2 separate regions of the Homo sapiens genome follow, and region 2 is linked to region 1. The links are contacts of gene promoters, found by promoter capture Hi-C in blood cells and fetal thymus (Javierre and others, 2016). All regions are on one chromosome and are shown on one strand. The core of a region is centred on a gene start or on the middle of the fragment in contact, and the rest is flanking DNA. Distances in the headings are between cores, read along the strand shown. Region 1 holds the start of SCO2 (synthesis of cytochrome C oxidase 2). Region 2 holds the start of MAPK8IP2 (mitogen-activated protein kinase 8 interacting protein 2).

Region 1 (2,751 bases), core at 1-2,500:
GGACCCGAGGCTTGAGCTGAGAGAGCCTGTGCCAAGCTGTGGGGCTCCGAGTCAGCAGCAGCATGGATCTGATGCTCCTGGAAACAAGCACAGGCGTCAGGAGCCAGAAGGGAAGGCCCAGGACAGTGCCTGGGCTGCCCCTGCGACTTGAGACCAGCCACCCATCTGAAGGACCCAGCCCACGTTCAGGCTTAACAGGCATTTGCAGCTGCTCACCTGAGCTCAGAACTCCACCTCCACCAAACATCCACACCTGGGCAACCACACCTGTCACTCCTGTCCTCTACCTGGGATCACCAGCCTGTCACCGCACCCTGCCCTGCACCTGCACCTCAGCAAGGTGAACCTCTTGCTGACGGAAAGCATTCCAAGTGCATGCCTTGCCTGAACTAACCACGTTATCTATTTGCAATAAACCCATTTCTTAAAAGGAGGTGGGTAACTCTCTGGCTTGCAATCCCCGAGAGCAACCGATTCCTCCAACACTTTCCTGTTACCTCCAGCCACTTCAACCAACCGCGGCCTTCCTCCACACTCCCAGCAGAAAACCTGCACGACCTACCCCCGGAGCTCAGACTCTGCCCGCCGGCTGTGTTTAACCTCTCCTGGCAGAGACGCACGACACTTCCACCCGCCACAAAACCCCACCCTCCTCACATCCAGGCTTCCCAGCAGCTCCTCCGGGCTCACAGCCGACGCCCTGCCTTTGCGTTGGTGACCTTTGAGCCTTTCCCACGGGCCCCCGCAGAAGGTTTGCTAGGTGGAGGTCTCAGGACTCCCGGTCACTGCCCCCTCCTGCTGAGGGCACCCTCCCGAGGACTCACTGCACCCCCGCCCGGGCGGTTCTGGGTTTGTGCCCTCCCCAGCAAGGCCAGCGCCCTCGTGGCCAGAAAGGTTCCAGGACCACTCGAAGCGCCGCGCGAGCGCGTTATAACTGTGCTTGGCCGCGAGAACACCGGTGCCTGCTGGGAGCCTCCCACGGGCGCCCCAGCCTCGCTCCGGCCTCCAGCGCGCCCTGGGGTGTGCCCCGCCAGCCCCGCGCAGTAGCCGGAGCTGGGAAACTACCCCGGAGTCCAGCGAGTCCTCAGGGCTACCTCCTCCCCTCCCAGCCCCGGCGTCCGCACCTCGCGGCGGGGCCGCGCGTCAGTGGACCAAGCACGAGAGGAAGCGCCGACCTCCAGCTCCCTGCGCTCTGCCCCGCCGGCTCAGGGAAAGCGGGCGCCACACGCTCACAGGCAGGGCGCAGGCGTCCCCGGAGCTGCGCATGCGCACACGGGCGCAGCCGCTGACAGGCTCTCAGCGCGTGCGCGGAAGGCGGAGCCCGCCGGGGGTCACGTGTTCATCGAGACGGCCCCCGCCTCCGCAGCCCTGGATCCTTCCGCTCCCGCCCAAGCACTGACAAGGTTTCGCGGCAAAGGAGCTTTATTGCTGCGGCGGCAGAACGAGCTCTGCGAAGGGCGAGGGGGCGGCGAATGGCGCGCGGTCGGAGAGTACGAGCGCCTCCTGCAGGGCGCGGCTCTGCGGGCCGCTGAGCGCGGGGCCGTCCCGGTGCACGCGGAGCCAGGGGGTCCCTGCAGAGCGAGGGGCTGTTAGAGGCCGCGCGGCCGGAGCTGGGCGGGGGTGCGGGGCCAGCAGGGCGGGGGCGGCGCTCACCACGGCGCAGCCTCTGACCCACGTCGACCAGCAGCTCTGCGCCCACCCCCAGGCGGAGCGGCTCCCCAGCGCGGCTGCGCCCGGCCCCGAGCTCGTGCAGCACCAGCGCCAGCGGCAGCGCCCGGACCAGCTCCACGGTGCCTGCGGGGAGAGGGGCTGAGAGGCGCGGGCTCGGGAAGGGGCGGGGCCTCGGGAAGGGAAGGGGATGGCGGAGGCGGAAGGACGGGGACTCCCCCGACGCTCACCATCTGCGGGCGCCAGCAGCTCCTCCTGCTCCCGGGCGCGAGGCAGCAGCTGCCGGCGTTCTGCGGGACTTCCCGAGCACAGGGCTCGGGCCAGACCGGGATCCACGCCCTGCGCCGCCAGCATCCGCTCGAAGCGGCCAAGGGCCGAGCCGTCGTCCAGCGCCGCGGCCACCCGGGCAGCGCCCTGGGCCTGAGTCCCCGCGTGTCCGCTGAGCCAGAGCAGGGCGCCCCCTGCGGGCGGGGACGGGTCTTAGGCGCGGCCGGGTCGGGGCGGCCCCAGCGGGAAGCACCCCCCGCCGCCTCCGCTCCCCTACACCCCGTCCCCCTCACCGAGCGTGGTGACCAGGTCCCTTAAGTCTGGCGGGCCTGCGCCGTCCATGCAGAGCAGCGCCTCCTCCACCTCCAGGGCGTGGCCCACGCAGCGACCCAGGGGCTTGTCCATGGCGGTCAGCGCTGCCGCGACCCGAAGCCCTAGGCTGGCTCCCACGCCAACCTGCGGAGAGGAGGCTCAGCGTGGACCCCCCATGGCGGGGCCTTCTGCAGCCGGTTCTTGGTCGAACTCCAGCCCCTGCTGCACCCTGGGTTGCCAGCCCCCCAGCATGAAGTCAGGGAAGGATTGGGGTGGGGAAGAGACACGAGTGAAGTGCGACACCTCGCCATGGGGCCAGGAGGAACTTGTACTTGGTCTGGGGCAGGAACGCCACAGAGGGCTTCCCCAGGTCCAGGCCGGGCCAGCCTTGACCTCTAAAGTCACAGCAGGTTAGGAAGCCGTGAAGGAGGGAGGGACTTCGGGCAGAAGAGGGTGGGACTGGGGTTAGGCAGGACTGCTGAGTGGAGGGAGGCAGTGGGGACG
Region 2 (4,212 bases), core at 1,294-3,793, 75 kb after region 1:
AATCTGGGAAGGGATCTGGATTTTTTGGGAAAGGCAGGGAGTGGTTAATAGGCCCAGACTCCCTCAGAAATGGGGAATGTTCTTAGTGCTTCTAAAAGGGAAAAGACTGTTATGGCAAAGACCTGATGCCCCAGACTGGGTTAGAGACCATAAGCTCTCTCATTCATTCATTCACATGTCTGCTAAGCACCTACTGTTTGCCAGGCACCATGCTTGGAGCCTAGGGCTTCACAGAGAGATGACAGCCTCTCTTCTCTCCAGCCAACCCAAGTCAAGAAGGCAAGCATAAACTAGTAAATGGCTTTTTTTTTTTTTTTGAGATGGGATCTCACTCTGCCCCCCAGGTTGGATGCAGTGGTGTGATCTCAGCTCACTGCAACCTTTGCCTCCTGGGCTCGGCCAATTTTTTTTATTTTTGGTAGAGACATGTTTCCAGGCTGGTTTCAAACTCTTGAGCTCAAGTGACGCACCCACCTTGGCCTCCCAAAGTACTGGGATTACAGGTGTAAGTCACTGTGCCCAGCCAAGTAAATGCCATTCTTAGAAAAATACTGTAATTGGCATAAAATATAAATTGTGATGGGACACCAAAGAGTGCAGGTTCAATCAGGCCCTGGCCACAGGCCTCTCTCTGAGCTGGAATGGTGATACCCCCCTTCCCGACTTGCATGAGCTCCTTCTGCCATGTCGTTTCTGGTGTTTGTCACTCAAGTGCCTTGTCCTTTCCTAAGGAATAATTTTCCAGGCCAGGGGCGGTGGCTCACGCCTGTAATCCCAGCACTTTGGGAGGCCAAGGAGGGCAGATCACCTGAGGTCAGGAGTTTGGGACCAGCCTGGCCAACATGGCAAAAACCCATCTCTACTAAAAACACAAAAATTAGCCGGACATGGTGGTGATTGCCTGTAATCCCAGCTACTCGGGAGGCTGAGGCACGAGAATCGGTTGAACCCGGGAGGTGGAGGTTACAGTGAGCTGAGATCGTGCCACTACACTCCAGCCTGGGCAACAGAGCAAGTTCTGTCTCAAAAAAAAAAAAAAAAAAAAAAAAAAAAAAAAAAAAAAGAATTTTCCGCAGAACTAAGACATAAAGAAATCTTAGGGCACATAACTTTCATCAAGGGGGAAAAGGGATTGCGCTTTTGTTGAAATGCCAGCCTCCTTCTTTAGCCAATATTTAGCCAGGTGCTGTGGTTCACACCTGTAATCCCAGCACTTTGGGAGGCTGAGGCCAGAGGATAGCTGAGCCCAGGAGTTTGAGACCAACCTGGGCAATACAGAGAGAGCCGGTCTCTCTCTCTCTCTTTTTTTTTTTTTGAGACGGAGTCTTGCTCTTGCCAGGCTGGAGTGCAGTGGCGCAATCTCGTCTCACTGCAACCTCCGCTTCCCGGGTTCAAATGATTCTCCTGGCTCAGCCTCCCAAGTCGCCGGGACTACAGGCGCCCGCCACCACGCCCGGCTAATTTTTTTGTATTTTTAGTAAAGACGGGGTTTCACCATGTTGGCCAGGATGGTCTCTGGTCTCGATCTCTTGACGTCGTGATCCACCCGCCTTGGCCTCTCAAAGTGGTGGGATTGCAGGCGTGAGCCACCGCGCCCAGCCACCGGTCTCTATTTTAGAAAGAAAAAAAGTGTCCTGCAGTCTCTCCCTAGTTCTGCGCCCTCAACCCTGATCTCCCGCCTCCTCCCACAGCCACCGTCTCGAGCTCAGCTTCAACCATGGCCCTCCCCACAGGGCTCCATCCCAAGCCAGAGCGGGTCAGTTCCCTACACAGGGCCCAGCAACACGGTGCCCAAGAAAAAGTGTTTCCAGTGGGACGCATGTCGCCTCCGTGGGTGCTAACTTCTCCCAGTGCCCGTCGGTACGTCCGTCCGGCTGTGCAGTCTCTACTGAGTGCTCAAAGTCCACTTTTAGCCCCAGCCAGCATCCTCTGAGTACCTTGTGCTCGATTCTGAATCCAGCCCTGCTCGGCGACCCTCGTGCAGACGTCCCCGTGCAGCCCCGGTCAGCACCCCGTGGGGACAGCTCCGATCAGCACCCGACGGCGGACAGCTCCTCCCGCGCCTCCCGCCTCGCCCGCCACCCCGCTCCGGGCCGCACCCGGGTTAGGGTTCCTGGGGGGATCCTGGGCGCGGCGGCGCAGCTCCCGGGGCCGCCCCGGCCTCTCGCCCAGAGGAAACAGCCCACGGCGAACCCGAGGCCCGCGGACCCCGGCGCTGCCTCCTCGGCCTCCCGCCCCGCGCGGGTCCTCCAGGGCGGGGCCCGACGCCCACCCGCCCGCCCCTTCCCTCCCGCCCCTCCCCGGGAAAAATCCTCATCGCACGCCCGGCCCTTCCCCAACCAGCGCCCGGCAGTGAAGCCGCCGCCTCTCCTCCAACCAGCGTCCCCGGCCGCGTCCCTCCCCCGCCTCCCCCGCCGCCCTCCCCGCGCCGCCGCGGAGTCCGGGCGAGGTGCGCGGGGCGGACGCCGCAGGGCGTGTCACGAGGTGAGCGGGGCGGGCCGAGCGCCGGCGCGGGGCGCGGCGAGGCTCCCGCACCCCCCGCCGCAGTCGCGGGCCTCTCCCGGAGAAGATGGCGGATCGCGCGGAGATGTTTTCTCTCTCCACCTTCCACTCGCTGTCGCCGCCGGGCTGCAGGTACCCCCCTCGGCGCCCGGGCCGGGCGGACCCTCCGCTCCCTGCGCACCCCCCCGACCCCGACCCGGCCCGGACCCCCGTCCCCGCCGCCCCAGCCCCGCCGCCGGCGCGGACCCGGCCCCGGCCCCCTGCGGTCCCTGAGCCTCGGCTCGGGCGCCCCACCCCCACCCCGCTCCCACTCCCTCCATCTTCACCGCGCGTCCCCAGCCTCAGTGACCCCCGGGCCCCGCCGGGATTCTGAGCCGCGCCCGGCCTGGACGGCTGACCTGTCAAGGGTGGAGGCCCTGGGCCGACCCTCTGCGGGGGAGGATGCGGGCGGGATGCGGGCACACCCTCCCGGCGCGGCGTGTCCCGGTGGCCTTGGCCTCTTTCAGTGGACGCCAGACCTGGCCGATAGGGCCCGGCCGGGAGAGAGTGGAAATCAAGCCCGGAGCCCTGCGGGAAGGGACTGGGGTTGGGAGGACGCTGGGCCTCTGGGTTTAGGCCTCACTCCGCCGGAGAGGGGGAGACAAACAGGCCAGACTCTCTTCCCAGAGCAGGAGCGACCCCTCCCCATCTGCCGCTGCCGCGTTGCAGCTCCCCCTCCCCTGCTCTGCAAGACCCTGACCCCAGGGGCCTGGAGCTGCGAGTGGAGGGAGGAGAGGCTGCTGGCTCTCCAGGGAGGCGGGGTGGGAGGGGTGGGGGCAGGGTTGGCTCCTCCGGGCAGGCCTGGCTCAGATGGGGGAGGGGATCCACAGGCGAGCAGAGCTTGGGGGTCAAGATGATGGCAGGATGTGTTCCGAGAGCTGGGGGCTGTGGAAACCACTGGGTGTAGGAGCTGACGCCTCCCTCTGCCCCTCCTCAGGGCCAGTTGCCAGGCAGGGAGTCCAGGGTTGGTGGCTCTCTGACCCTGGTCTCCTTTCCAGGCCTCCCCAGGACATAAGCCTGGAAGAATTTGACGACGAAGATCTGTCTGAGATCACTGATGACTGTGGCCTGGGCCTCAGCTACGACTCAGACCACTGTGAGAAGGTGGGAGAAGAGTTGGGGACACAGATCCAGCTCAAGGGAGGGCCTCATTAGGTTCTTCTTAGCGTTCACTTGGGGTTTTAGGGTGGGTGTGAGCTCAGCCTTGAACCGGGGACTCCTCTGATGGCTCCTCCCCACTTAACCCTTGAGGTTTCCTTGGTATCAACTCTCTCTTATTCCAACACATTGCAGGCCTCCACGCAGGGCCTTCCCCAGCATTCTCCCCGACCCCATCGGTGGCCAGCCCGGGGCAGGGAGGTGCTCCTTTGCTTTGGGTGCCCTCTGTCCTCAGATCACTCCCAGAAAGATCTAATCCCTGGCAGCTGCCATCACAACCTTGTCCCCTCTGCAGCCCTGTGCCCTCGTCTGCAGCTCCCATCTGTCTGTTTCATGTCTCCCCCTGCTGAAATCTTTTCTCGTCCATCTCTTGCTTCTCCTCCTCCCTGTCTCTCCACATTTCTGCTTTCATTTATTGAAGAACATTTCTGAGCAACTGCCATGTGGCAAGTACTGGGGGCTTCTGGGTGCTGGGAGTGGAACAGGACAGCTGCTCTCTGGAGCTGCAACTTA

The links. The method cuts DNA at HindIII sites, captures the fragments that hold promoters and counts their contacts. A CHiCAGO score of 5 or more calls a contact.
Region 2: the fragment with the promoter of MAPK8IP2 here is called in contact with the fragment with the promoter of SCO2 in region 1 in 7 of 17 cell types (neutrophils, M0 macrophages, total CD4 T cells and 4 more); the score reaches 7.4 in neutrophils.

Annotation. Positions count from the first base shown.
Region 1 is chr22:50,524,348-50,527,098 of GRCh38, forward strand. SCO2 (synthesis of cytochrome C oxidase 2) reads right to left here and starts at 1,251. Exons shown (of 2, transcript NM_005138.3): 1 at 1,125-1,251; 2 at 1-77. The coding sequence starts at 64. NCAPH2 (non-SMC condensin II complex subunit H2) reads left to right here. Exons shown (of 20, transcript NM_152299.4): 20 at 1-433. TYMP (thymidine phosphorylase) reads right to left here. Exons shown (of 10, transcript NM_001953.5): 7 at 2,229-2,391; 8 at 1,899-2,129; 9 at 1,654-1,794; 10 at 1,405-1,571. The coding sequence ends at 1,423. RefSeq lists silencers at 923-1,222, 1,433-2,262 and enhancers at 2,353-2,652, 2,461-2,751. The HindIII fragment of the contact is 21,491 bases long and covers 1-2,751 here.
Region 2 is chr22:50,598,250-50,602,461 of GRCh38, forward strand. It overlaps MAPK8IP2 (mitogen-activated protein kinase 8 interacting protein 2), which reads left to right and starts at 2,544. Exons shown (of 12, transcript NM_012324.6): 1 at 2,544-2,634; 2 at 3,540-3,645. The coding sequence starts at 2,570. RefSeq lists a silencer at 1,954-2,133 and an enhancer at 2,923-3,423. The HindIII fragment of the contact is 20,896 bases long and covers 1-4,212 here.